Regions from separate parts of the Homo sapiens genome. Here regions 2 and 3 are each linked to region 1. Evidence: promoter capture Hi-C in human tissues and cell types (Jung and others, 2019). All regions are on one chromosome and are shown on one strand. Each heading gives the region's core, a stretch centred on a gene start or on the middle of the fragment in contact. The rest is flanking DNA. Distances are from core to core; before and after follow the strand shown. Region 1 holds the start of SCAI (suppressor of cancer cell invasion). Region 2 overlaps SCAI (suppressor of cancer cell invasion). Region 3 overlaps SCAI (suppressor of cancer cell invasion).

What was found. Contacts are between HindIII fragments. The study calls those that stand out against the background at their distance.
Region 2: a fragment that was not itself captured here is called in contact with the fragment with the promoter of SCAI in region 1 in 3 of the 25 tissues and cell types used here (IMR-90 fibroblasts, aorta and dorsolateral prefrontal cortex).
Region 3: a fragment that was not itself captured here is called in contact with the fragment with the promoter of SCAI in region 1 in 3 of the 25 tissues and cell types used here (adrenal gland, dorsolateral prefrontal cortex and thymus).

What each region holds. Positions count from the first base shown.
Region 1 is chr9:125,141,381-125,146,081 of GRCh38, forward strand. It overlaps SCAI (suppressor of cancer cell invasion), which reads right to left and starts at 2,148. Exons shown (of 18, transcript NM_001144877.3): 1 at 2,005-2,148; 2 at 1,253-1,297. The coding sequence starts at 2,057. RefSeq lists a silencer at 1,767-2,266. The HindIII fragment of the contact is 13,050 bases long and covers 1-4,701 here.
Region 2 is chr9:125,034,938-125,039,638 of GRCh38, forward strand. The region is part of intron 3 of SCAI (suppressor of cancer cell invasion); the gene reads right to left. Among named protein-coding and RNA genes, the nearest start is that of GOLGA1, 96 kb to the left of the region's middle. The HindIII fragment of the contact is 9,496 bases long and covers 1-4,701 here.
Region 3 is chr9:125,056,154-125,060,854 of GRCh38, forward strand. All of the region lies in intron 2 of SCAI (suppressor of cancer cell invasion), which reads right to left. Among named protein-coding and RNA genes, the nearest start is that of SCAI, 85 kb to the right of the region's middle. The HindIII fragment of the contact is 7,319 bases long and covers 1-4,701 here.

The DNA.
Region 1 (4,701 bases), core at 898-3,397:
GTCACATAACTACAGTAGCTTACTTTCTCTAGGTCAATGCCAACATCTGTGAAAAAGGAATCATCTAATGACTACACAGAATTGCTATGTAGTACCTCTCACATGGAATGCAGTCAAAAATGTTTATGTGATAAATATATCTTCATCTCCATTACTCAAGGACTAATTCACTTTGTTTGTGGACTACTTAAACTCTTTGCTTCTATTTTCCTAAGGTTCAACCATTCGAGTTAACTACACAGTGTCCAACGACAAAAGATAAAGCAATAAGAAAACCTACTTTCAATTGCATATTTATTAGCAGCATTATGGTATAACAGTTAAGAGCTTAAGCTCTGGAGTCAGACTGTCTGGATTCAAATCCTGGTTTTATCTTTTACTAGATGCATGATTTTGGGTAAATATTTGGCCTCTCTGTGTCGCAGTTCCCTCTTCTGTAAAATAGTGACACTACATATTCTCTTAGGGTTCTTTGAGGATTACAGGAGAAGATACACATAGAGCATTCGTACACAGTACTTGGCACATAGTAGATGCTCAATAAAATTAGTTTATTTTTTGAGGCAGGGTCTTGCTGTGTTCCCCACACTGGAGTGCAGTGGCATGATCACGGCTCACTGCATCACTGCAGCCTTGACTTCCTGGGCTCAAGCAATCCTCCCACCTCAGCCTCTTGAGAAGCTGGGACTACAGGTCCACAACACCCGCTCAGCTAGTTGGTTTTTGTTTTTTTAATTTTTTGTTTTTGTGGGTACATAGTAGGTGTATATATTTATGGGACCGGCTAGTTTTTCAATTTTTTGTAGAGACGGAGTCTTGCTCTGTTGCCCAGACTGGTCTTGAACTCCCAGGCTCAAATGATCCTCCTGCCTCAGCCTCCCAAAGAGCTGGGATTGAAGGCATGAGCCACCCCAGCCAAGATGAGCTTTTTAAACAGAGATGCTGGAGAAAATGAAATTATGGCTAAGGTTAAAAAAAAAAATAGCTGAGATCCTTACACAACATCAAAAAGTAAAAAAGTAGGATTTCTCAAGATTTCCCACATTATCTTAGATACCAAGAAAAAAAAAATCGACTGTAGAGGTAGTAATTTGAAGTCCTCAAAAGAAAAATCATGCATGTGGTTATATTCTTTTAAAAGGGGGATAAATAAGAAACTTCATCTACTGACAGTATACAATTATGCAGTACGGCACAGGTGCAGCCAAGCAAAAAGAAAAACATGAAGCAAAATAGGAAGGCACTGCCTTACCTGCTTCTCCGTTTTCGAGGCGGTTTCTCCACTGTGCCAGTCAGTCTGCAGACCAAACAAATAAGACGGTAACTAAAAGTAACATACAAGAAAACATCTCCCGGCGCTACCGTGCCAGTCAAGAACTAAATAGACCACCCTCTGGGACCACAGGCTCGCCAAGCCCAGATCTGACCTTACAAACGCCTCATGCCCTGTTTCCCCTATTTACCAAGACCTAGCATTCCTGGGACTCACCGTTCCCCCAATTCCCCCTGAGCTCAAACCTTCCTGGTCCCTCACCCCATCCTCGACCCCTGCTCGTCACAGCCCAGCTCCCCAAAATCACCCACCTCCACCTACTCATTGTCTGCCTCGTCACCCCCGCAAGCCCCCCTAGCCTCCCCTTTCCTGTGCCCACCCGTTCCCGACCGTGCACTGCCCCCTCCACGCCCCGCCTCTCCGGGCCCGGCGACCCCCGCATTCCACGGCCCCTCCGGGGGCGCGCCCGCCTTGCCCCTCCCGGCCCCGCGCCGCCAGCCTCACCCCTCGGCGCCCCTTCCCTCACACGCCCCTCTCACCTGGCCTCGAGGAGGCGATCGCGCCCAGCCCGCGCCGCCGCCTGCAGGCGCCCCCAAGGTCCCCCCAGCCTGCACCCCCCGCCCCTCCGGTCTCTGCGCCCCGAATGCTCCACCGCCCCGAGCCGCTGCCCCTGGGCCCGCTCCCTGGCCCCCACCCCATCCCCAACCCCGGCCTCCACCCAGCCCCCGCACCTGGGGGCCAGGCGACTCCGCGGCTGCTGGGGCTGCCGGGCTCCTCTGACCATCCGGCTCCTGCTCCGCCGCGGGAGCTGCTCCGGCGGCCGCAGGGCTCGCTCGGGAAGCTGAGGCGGCGGAGGCTGGAGTAGGCGGAGAGGCGGGAGGAGGGCCTCGCGCCTCTGCCAGGCTTGCCGCGGGGCCCGCCTCCTCCGCGCCTCTCCTCGGCTCCCATTGGCTAGAGCAGTAGTGTGGACGGAAATCTGTCAGTCGATTGGACGCTCGGCCCGTCACATCCCGCGCTGCCCACCCAGAGGTTTGGTTGAGACTGCAGGTGGCGGCGGAGGTGCCTTAGAGATTGCTAGCAGGGCCGGAGGAGACCCTAGCGCCACCATGCGTCTAAAAGTAGGAACTGCACCCCCGGCTCCAGACACCTGCCCCAGGTTCTCCTGGCTCTGCGTCCTGCATACCACACACCTGCTGGCGCCCCTCCACCTCTGCACCACGCCAGGACCGAAAACAAGCCCTGAAATCTCCCAATTTCTTCTAGCAGGTGAGACAGTGAGGCAACTCTCACAAACGTGTTTCCTTTTAAGCCACCTCGAATGCGATCCTTGTCCCTACATCTTGCTGAAATTGTCTCACAGCTCACAGCTACCCCTCAAAAAGGACCCAGCCAGAAAACTCTAAGAATCCACCAAAATAAAGCATGGTTTGGATGCTCAATCCTCTGCAGAAAAGCTCACTAGCTTGGGTGCAGGCTTTTAAGAAAGTAAGATTTTTTTTTAATTACCATGAAAGAAAAATCAGCACTACAAACAGAACCAATGCCATACTAAAAGCAACGTGTTCCATTTTGAAAGGCCTGGACAAATTTGATCCCTGAATGGAAGCTGACCATCCTGATTGTGTGACCATTGCAAGTTCTACACCAATTAATCAATTTTAAAATAAATTGTACTGTATTTTTTGACAAACAGGCATGCAAAACTGCCTTTCATAAGCATAGTTACCCTTCTTCTGCTTTAACAAAGCCATCCTTGAAAATAAGACTCAGCTCATTAACGTATTATAAAATTCTTGAAGGTGGGAAGGCCTCTCTAAATCTCTACTCCTGTGTGAACTTGTTTGGTATATTCTCAGCATCTGTTCAGAGTTGGGAGGAGGCATAAAACTTTCTCTTAAGTCACTTCCATTTTATTAGAACATCTTTTATGCCTCAATAATATGACAGCGTCGAGTAGTACATGTCAACATTGGGGTGGGGAAAATCTCTCATTGATCTCCATAAGCGGCAAAAATTAGGATACTAGTTTTTCACAAAACCAAATGTATTTGGTGTAAAGAGTTGTCTTTTCTTCTGAGATGGTCCTACCTACATCTTTAATGGTAAAATGACTTTCCATTTATGAAGTAATACTGACGGTAAATTGTAGTAGGAATTGAAAAATTGCTTTGAAAAAATGTCAAATCTCTGTTGGTCCCCCAAATTAGTATTTCACGTAATCCTAAAGTCACAGAACCACAAATCACCTCAATCTCAACTAACAGTTTCCACCCATATTATCAAGCCAGAGAGAGGAAAGAACTCGAGAATAATTTGTGTCAGACGAAGGGGGATCATCAACTCACTAGGGAAGTAATCTTGAAATACATTTATTATATTCCTTATTAAAAATCCATTGCCTGCTTTTTAGCATCTTCCATAATTGACCAATCCTCACTGATATATGGCAGATATTGTCAATAAAACAGGACCTATTCATTTCTTACGCCTTCCCAAAAAGGATCCTCGAGTCTTCACATTGTGTCCAAGTGATCTCTGCTTATTTTAACTCTGTAAGACATACAAATCCCATCATTCCAGTCCACACTTAATTCACACTTCCTCTTTATCTTCCCCAATTACTCCATCCTACATCAAACATTTCCTTGTCCAGATGTGTTGTACTTACAAAATCTACACTATGTTAGCAATTATACATTGCCTTGGATTATTCTTCCCAACTACAATGAATTTGAACAAATGGCCTATGAGTATGAGCCCTTAATAAAAGGCAGCTTTGGACCAGATACTGGGTGCTTTGTGTGTGCTATTTTTAATAGTGAGATTAACCCTGCCTGATATTCTCTTATTTTAGACACAGAAACTTAAGATTCAGAAAATTCAATCTGTTCAGGGTCACACAACTACAATAACCAATATTGCTTAAAATAGAGCGCTAAAGAAATACTCTGGTGTGCCCTCTAGGGATTCAAGTTCCAGCTCTCTTGTGCAACGTTAGACAAGTCACCTATCCTCTCTAAGCCTATTTCCTCATCTAGGGGGAGAAAAGTTCTAGAGAAGGATGAACAAGATTTATTAATTTTTTTGAAGTTTGGGCTGGGCACAGTAGCTTATGCTTGTAATCCCAGTGCTTTGGAAGGCCGAGATAGGAGGATCTCTTCAGCCGGGAGTTCAAGACTAGCCCGGGCAACATAGGGAGACCCCATCTCTACCAAGAAAAAAAAAAAATAAAAGGTAATATAGTCATAGACCCATACAGCAAGGGCATCACAAAATAGAGAACATAACAATTTAGCACATATGCTGTATACAGGTTAGTTGCTATTACTGCATGACAGAGCTGGGGTTTTCACCCAGATCTGATCCCAAAGCCTGTGCTATTCCATAATGCCTCCATGCAGTCTTTTATAACCCACCATTTATATACA
Region 2 (4,701 bases), core at 1,251-3,750, 110 kb before region 1:
ACTTTTAGAATCCATGTATAGATCAAACACAAAATATTTAACTATGATTATAGCATGGTAAATACAGTTTATGTTCTGTGAAATAAAAACATGAAGCTATAACTGACCAAAACTAAGCATGAGAAAAGAAGAGAGGCTGGGTGTGGTGGCTCAATGCTTGCAATCCCAGCACTTTGGCAGGCTGAGATGGGAGGACTGCTTGAACCCAGAAATTCAAGACCAGCCAGGGCAACAAAGTGAGATCCCTGTCTCTAGCAAAAATGAAACAATTAGCCAGGTGTGGTGGCATGCACCTGTGGTCCCAGCTACTCAGAGTCTGAGGAAGGAGAATCGTTAGAGTCCAGGAGGTCGGGACTGCAGTGAGCTGTGATCATACCACTGCGCTCCAGCCTGGGCAACAGAGTGAGACTCTATCTTAAAAAAAGAAAAAATGAAAGAAACAAAGAAACAAAGAAAACATAGAAAAGATGATGGAACTAGTGGGAATGAAAATTTACCTTACAAAATGGAATCAAAGGGATACCATCAATATGGTGTATGGATGGGTTAAAGGACTGGGTTTTGAAGTCAGACTGGCTTGGTACCACTAATTGTCTACACAATGTTATACAGAGTAAACTTTATGCCTTAGTTCCTCATTTATAAAATGGAGATAATAATAATAGAGCCTAGACCATAGGTTTGATGACAAGAGTTACTGAGTTAATACAGGTAACGACCTAAGAATACACAGCACCTAGTGAAAACACAAAAAAGTTAGATAATACTATCATCTATGATCAGCATTTAAAACGTGTGCTGCCAGTAGTTGACAATATGATTAATAAAATGAATAATGGGCCAGGCACAGTGACTCAAGCCTGCAATCCTAGCACTTTGGGAGGCCAAGGCAGGAGGATCATTTGAGGCCAGGAGTTCGAGACCAGCATGGGCAACGAAGTGAGACCTTGTCTCTACAAAAAAATTTAAAAATTAGCCAACCAGCAGCCCTCGGGGCTGCTCTGCCTACAGAGTAGCCATTCTTTTCTTTCTTTACTTCTCTAATAAACTTGTTTTTACTTTAAAAAGAAATTAGCCAGGGGCATGCTTGTAGTCCCAGCTACTATGGGGGCTGAGGCGGGATGACTGCTTCAGCCCAGGAGGTTGAGGCTGCAATAAGCCATCATTGCACCACTGCACTCCAGCCTGGGCAACAAAGGGAGCCCCTGTCTTAAAAATAAATAAATAAAATAAAATGAATAATGGGAAAACCGAGAAGAGTGGTAACGTAAATTCAGAGGGTATGGTGGGGATTAGACAGTATGTGTGGATTACTTGAAAGAGGCCTGGCACAAAGTAAGCACTAATAAATGTTAGTTGCTATTAGTATTCTTATTCCTGCTACTATTTCTATGGGGCAGGGAAAAGAGTAGCTTTTGGGTAAATGAAGTCTTCATTTATTGTGGCAGGATATCAAAGGAGAATGTATAAATTAATAAACGAAGAAAGAGTGATAAAAGTATATTTGAGAAATGAAAGTAAATGCCAGGAAAACTAAAATCAGAAAGAGTCAAAAGTGATTGCCTCTGAAAAATGAGGACTCCAGGTGAGAGGGATGTTTTAGCCAATACTACTTCATAGTGTAAGCCCTTTTATATTATTTCACCTTGTAAAACTCATGTTTTTTAAATTATGAGTTATATTTTAATTCATTTTTTGAATTGGTAATTTATATACATAGTATAAAATTCAAAGAGCACAAAAGGTATGTATAGAGTAAGTCTCCTCCACTTCTATTCCAAATAACCTAGGTCTTCATTGTGAAGACCTTTATTTACTTACAAGCATATAACTGTGCATGTATGCATATAAATATGCTGTTTTGAAAAAGAAGTTTTAAATAAATACATTAAGAAAAAAGTAGCCGGGCATGATGGCTCATGCCTGTAGTCCCAACACTTGGGGAGGCTAAGGCGGGAAGAGCACTTGAACCCAGAAGTTCAAGACCACACTGGGAAACATGGAGAGACCTTACCTCTTCAAAACATTTTTAAAAAAATTATCCAGGCAGGCCAGGTGCAGTGGCTCACGCCTGTAATCCCAGCACTTTGGGAGGCCGAGGCAGGCTGATCACCTGAGGTCAGGAGTTCGAGACCATCCTGGCCAACATGGTGAAACCCTGTCTCTACTAAAGAGACAAAAATTAGCCAGAAGTGGTGGCAGGCGCCCATAATCCCAGCTACTTGGGAGGCTGAGGCAGGAGAATTGCTTGAAACTGGGAGGCAAAAGTTGCAGTGAGCTAAGACCGCACCACTGCACTCCAGGCCTGGGCAACAAGAGCAAAACTTTGTCGATTAAAAAAAAAAAAAAATTAGCCAGGCCTGGTAGGACTACATGCCTATGGTCACAGCTCCCTGGGAGGCTGAAGGGAGAGTATCATTTGAGCCAAGGAGGTCAAGACCAGCCTGGGCAATGTAGTAAGACTCTATCCCTACAAAAAAAAAAAGAAAAGAAAAGAAAGAAGAAAAAAAAGTACAAGTTGAAAAAGAACAATCCCATGACCTAACCAATTCCATTTAATATTTTAGTGTATTTCTTGCCAGACTGTTTCCTGGTCATATTTGTTTTGTCACCTTAAATAAGGAAATTGTATTTCTGTTTCATTGGCTGTCTAAGACTATTAGTGATCTGAAAGGGTTTTATAGAAGAATTTCTTGGCCGGGTACAGTGGCTCAAGCCTGTAATATCAGCACTTTGGGAGGCCAAGGCGGGCGGATCATTTGAGGTCAGGAGTTTGAGACCAGCCTGACCAACATGGTGAAAACCCGTCTCTACTAAACATACAAAATATTAGCTGGGTCTGGTGGCGAACGCCTATAATCCCAGCTACTTGGGAGGCTGAGACAGGAGAATTGCTTGAACCTGGGAAGCGGAGGTTGCAGTGAGCCGAGATTGTGCCACTGCACTCCAGCCTGGGCGACGAGAGTGAAACTCCATCTCAGGAAAAAAAAAAGAATTACTTGTGCCCATTTTTGGGGCCATCAAAATAAGAAATAACAGGTCAGTGCAGTGGCTCATGCCTGTAATCCCAGCACTTTGAGGGGCCAAGGCGGACAGATCACTTGAGCCCGGAGTTCGAGACCAGCCTGGGCAACATGGCAAAACCCTGTCTCTACAAAAAAATACACAAATTAGCCAGACATGGTGGCACAGGCCTGTAGTGCTAGCTACTCGGGGAGCTGAGGTGGGAGGATCAATTGAGCCCAGGAGGTCAAAGCTGCAGTGAGCCAAGATTGCGCCACTGCAGTCCAACAAGACCCTACCTCAAAAAAAGAAAAGAAATAATTCAAATGAAACTGTTTCCTTTTAAAGCATCATTGAGAAAGCCACAAAACAAGGCCTATCAGTGTGGCTAGCTCAACCTGCTATGTTTTGTTAAAATGTTTTTCTTGAGATAAACTGGGTGCAGTGTACATCGGTAGTTCACCAAGCCTGTAATACCATGATATCTAATTTATGATTTCCTTTTGAGCTGCTGTTTCTTGGCCAGCAGCTGTGTGTCTCCAAATAATTTTTCCCCCAAACCAGCATGTTTTCTGAATATGTCTTCTTGATCTGCTTACCTAGATGTTTTCCAAATGCTGTAAAATGTTTTTTAAAATTTCATCTTTACTTTTTCCATTACAACTTTTCTGAATTCTCCATCAAAAATATTGGTAATTATTCAGTTGTGTCATCTTCATTCTCTTGACTTCATATTTATCATTTTCTCAGGATACTGAGAGATCATCTGCAGTTCTTCCTGAATATCACTAGCTAAATGTTTTGAAGTACTGGTAGGATCAGTCTGCAGTCACATCACCCTGAGGTGCAGCATCTTGTCTAAGTATCAGTTCTACTCTATTGTCTTTGATGTGAATTTTAATCCTGCTACTGCGTTTTTGCTTTCCTGAACATCTTTCTTGCTTTATTTAACCTTAGCCTGTTATCTCCTTATAGTTCTATGCTCTTTCACAGAAGCCATGATCTGTGGCATTTTATTACAGAAGACAATCTTCTGAAAGTTTTTTATACCCGGCCAACTGATCTTTACTCATTGGTTTCATAGCTCTCAGTATGTATACTGTGACAGTGACAATATTTCTTCCCCCTCTTACATTCGGCTTAATTTTTAGAAGTAGCAATCTGGGGCCGGGTGCAGTGGCTCACGCCTGTAATCCCAGCACTTTGGGAGGCCAAGGTGGGCAGGTCACAAGGTCAAGAGAGCAGACCATTCTGGCCAACATGGTGAAACTCCATCTCTACTAAAAATACAAAAGAATTAGCTAGGCGTGGTGGCATGCGTCTGCAGTCCCAGCCACTCGGGAGGCTGAGGCCGGAGAATCGCCTGAATCTGGGAAGTGGAGGCTGCAGTGAACCAAGATCACGCCACTGCACTCCAGCCTGGCAACAGAGCGAGACTCCATCTCAAAAAAAAAAAAAAAAAAAGAAAAGAAAAAGAAAAAGAAAGAAATAGCAATCTGGGTATCTCATAAAGCAGTAAAAATGCAGAAGGGCAGGTGCTGATTTCACCACTGGAGACTTTATCGATTAACTTTTGCTGCATAACAAGCCACTTCAAAACTTAGAAGCTTAAAACAAAAACCATGTAGTCGCTAATCATTTTATGGGTAGGCAATTAGATGTGAGTTCAGTTGGACAGTTCTGCCAGTCTCAGTCAGA
Region 3 (4,701 bases), core at 866-3,365, 85 kb before region 1:
GTAAGATACTGTAAGAAAACAGATCATCTCAGTCGGGCGCAGTGGCTTACACCTGTAATCCCAGCACTTTGGGAGGCCGAGGTGGATGGATCACCTGAGGTCAGGAGTTCAAGACCAGCCTGGCCAACATGGAGAAAGCTTGTCTCTACTAAAAATACAAAAATTAGCCGGGCGTGGTGGTGGGCACCTGTAGTCCCAGCTACTCAGGAGGCTGAGGAAGCAGAATTGCTTGACCCAGGGAGGCGGAGGTTGCAGTGAGCCGAGACGTGCCATTGCACTCCAGCCTGGGTGACAGAGCGAGACACCATCTCAAAAAACAAAGAAAAAAAGAAAGAAAATAGATCATCTCCTATCATTGGTATGGATGAAAATTGGAACCATATTAGAAAGCAATTTTTATAATATCCTTTCCTCTAATAAATATTATTTGAATGCCTGTTATGTTCTAGGCATTCCTCTACATGGTTAACAATCTAAAAATATTGATTTATTTGTCCATTTGATCCACTCTATAAATCCTTCTGGAAAATGATCCCACAAATGGGAAAACACTTTATCCGTGTATTTATTTTAGTATCATAACATTTAAAAATTGAAAACAACCTAAAGGCCCCAAAGACTAAAATGGTTAGGAATACTGACCACTGCACTCTACCCAATCACTAACTTACAACTCTGTTTAAGAAGGTGAGGCAATGGTATGAGTACACTTCAGTATAAAAGGGATATAAAATCACACACACACATATACATACACACACACGTACACACACAGACGTATATTAAAACTATATTGAAACTATCTCCACTTGTAATAAATTTCATAAAGCTGCCATGTAAAAACAGAAAACAACAGTAAGTTGTCAGACAGTATGTACAATACAAACCTAAATTTTAAAAACTGATTTGTGTTTACACACAGACAGAAATTCCTGGAACAACAGGAAAATTTGGTCCTGGTGTAGGATGTAAAAATAGGCAGACAAAATATAGTCACTGAAATAATGTGATACAATTGGTGAAATAATGAATTTTAATAGATGGACTGAAGAACAGAAAGGATACAGTTGAACAAATAAATAAGCTAAAATATCAGATTTGGGGTACTCTGCCAAAAGACAGTAGAAAGAGATTAAATATATAAAAGAAAAAGCAAGAGATAAGATAGAGAAATGAGGGAAATCAACTGCCACACAATAGCTTACACAGGAGGAGAGAAAAACACAAATGAGAGTGAAGAAATATTTGCAGAAATAATGACTAAATTTCCCAGAATTAGAGAAAATGTAACACCTAAAATTGAAAGGACTCAAAGAATGTCAAAATAATCCCACAGCTAGAACCATTAAAGTAAAACTTAGGAAATCAGAATTCTCTTCCCTTCCTGAAAAATTCACTCTTATAGCCACCAAGTGGGTATCCACATCACAGGGTACCTGCATGGTTGTCGGAATATAAGCTACGTGAGGAGGCCATTCGCAGGCAGAGCCAGCTTGCACAGGATGTTGAAGGCCGAGTGTGGAGGAGGAGGAGGGCACCCATGAGGGTGGAGGACTGGCAGGGAAAGTAGGAGCCTGAGCACCTCCACATAGAAGGGTTCAAAGCAGCAATGGGAGATTTGCTATATAAAGAGGGAAGGATCAAATAAGATCTATTAAGGGCAGATGCAGTGGCTCACGCCTGTAATCCCAGCACTTTGGGAGGCAGAAGCAGGAGGATCACTTGAGGCTAGGAGTTTGAGACCTGCCTGGGCAATACAGTGAGATCTTGTCTCTACAAAAAATGTAAAAATTAGCCAGATGTGGTGGCAGGTGCCTACTCAGCTACCTCAGATACTCAGGAGGCTGAGGCAGGAGAGTCGACTGAGGCCAGCAGTTCAAGGGTGCAGAGAGCTATGATCCCTCCACTGCACTTCAGCCTGAGTGACAGAATGAGACCCCATTTCTTTAAAAAAAAAAAATTCTTTTTTAAAAAAGATTTATTAAAGGCAATGGGACCCAGAGTTCTCACTTGGCAGAGAAGGGAGATGCAAATATGGAAATGGAAGAAGTTAGAATGAACTCTGTGGATTGAAACTGGGCCAGGTACAGTGGCTCATGCCTGTAATCCCAGCACTCTGGGAGGCCAAGGTGGGTGGATCATTTGAGGTCAGGAGTTTGAGACCAGCCTGGGCAACATGGTGAAACCCATCTCCACCAAAAAATACAAAAATTAGCCCAGCATGGTGGGGTGTGCCTGCAGTCCCCAGCTACTAGGAAGGCTGAGGCAGGAGAATCACGTGAACCCGGGAGGCGGAGGTTGAGGTGAGCTGAGATCATGCCACTGTACTTCAGCCTGGGCGACAGAACGAGACTGCGTTTCAAAAAAAATAAACTGTAAGTATGAGTGAACTCATGGATTTCTGAAGACATGGACATACATGCATGGTGTGTGTGTCTACATAAGCACACACAGATGCATACTCCCTAGCTCTGTAATTCTATCTACTGAGAGCGCCTTGGAGCAGTGATCATCTTCCCTCCCCAGTGGTATGAACGTTTCTAGCACCTAACACTTGGCCCCTAATACCATTCTCCAATAAAAGGAACCAGACATCTCTGGAGAATTGTAATTCACTAATTACAGCACAGGGGTAGAAAAAGTACAGGATCAATCTGGAATATCTTGTGGTAGTAAGCAAGAAAGTGCTCAAGGAATGCTAAAGAATGTCAAAAAGACATAGGATCAAGCTTGAAGGAGATCCCACTGGCCAAACAGGGTAATTTCAGCATCAATACCAATAGTAATAGCAATGGATTATAACCTACTGAACAAAATAAGAAATCATGAATCAATATAGATATAAATAAATGAGTGAATAAATGGAAAGTGTGGTAGTGAATGGGATAGTTTCAGAATACTTCCCCCATAAACTACACATTACTTCCAAGGGAAAAAGTAATTTCACAGCAGTAAAATCCAGCAGACACTGCCTTGATCAAATGATCAAAGTGAACATCATTAGTAATCAGACAAATCAAAGTCCCATGCGATGAGAAGTACTGTTCCTGTCAAAGTTCTGTAGCCTGAGTCTAATCATGAGGAAACAGACAAAACCAAGTTGGGGGACATTCTACAAAATAACCAACCTGTAATCTTCAAAAATGTCAAGTACTTTCCTTCAAAGACAAGGGAAAACTGAGGTATAATGCCTGATTCTCCCCTGGATCCTTCTGCTGTAAAGGATGTTATTGAGACAACTGGTAAGGCCTGAATGGGGTCTAAGGACTAGACAGGAGTAAATTTCAATGTTAATAAGAAAAATGTTCAACCACCAATGATGAATTGGTGAACAAAATACAAACACAGTAAAATACAGTAACAAAATACAAACCTAATGCAGCAAAATGAGCACATTAAAACTACACTAATTATAGCAGTTGAACATGCACTGAAACCAGCATAGTTGCTAGAGGCAGTGTAAATTAGTTCAAACCCATAAGTTTCCCTGAATGTATGAGGGGACATTAAATGGTCATTCTATGAGATCTATCAATTACACTGCAGAAAATTTATCCTGAGGTTAACTGTCATTACTGGTAAATTACTCATAACACAAGAACTGGTGAAGAATCACTAGCATCTGACATTCTTCAAAATCTATCTTTCCAGTCTCACCTTCCACTAGCACACACGTACCTATTCTCCGACCACAAGGAAATACTTGAAAGCCTCTGAACAAATCCTACTCTTATACAGCATCATGATTTACACGCTATTCCCCTGGCCTATTTTGTACACCTACCAAATTTATATTCATAGTTGAAGACAGCATTCAAACGACAACTTTTCTGTAAAACTTTCCTTGAAAATCTAAATCTTTCCCTGGCACCTACTTCTGATCAAGTCAGTAGGGGCTTCTTCAGTTACTTCACAAAGAGTTGAACAAATATAACAATTATTTGTTTTTTGAAAAGTCTATCTCACCATCTAGACACACACTGTCCAAAAGTGTAGTCATTAGCCTTTTGTCACTATTTGGCACTTGAAACATGGCTACTCTGAATTGAGATGTGCTATAAATGTGAGGTATAAGTGTAAAATATGCCAGATTTAGAAGGCTTAGTATGAAAAAAAAAAAAAAAAGCCATGGCAGATAGTGAAAGGAAACTGATAAAGACATATGGCCACATAAAGATGGCATTAATATGTAATCCTAGCAACAGCATTGTTTGTGGAGATAATTCTCAGCAGACATCTTCAGAGTGGCATATTTCTTCAAAGTAGTTCCAACTGTCTTGCAAACAGCCAGGTATTCTGAATATATAACCAAAAAGATCATCATATATATTTTTAAATCTTTCAGTATGCTAGTGATATGGTTTGGCCCACCCAAATCTCAACTTGAATTGTAAATCCCAGAATTCCCATGTGTTGTGGGAGGGAACCACGGGGAGGTAATTGAATCATGGGGCCATCTTTCCCATGTTATTCTCATGATAGTGAGTAAGTCTCACAAGATCTGATGGTTTTATCAGGGGTGTCCGCTTTTGCTTCCTCCTCATTTTCTCTTGCCACTGCCATGTAAGAAGCACCTTTCGCCTCCTATCATGATTCTGAGGCCTTCCCAGCCATGTGGACCTATAAGTCCAATTAAACCTCTTTTTCTTCCCAGTCTCAGGTATGTCTTTATGAGTAGCATGAAAATGGACTAATACAGCT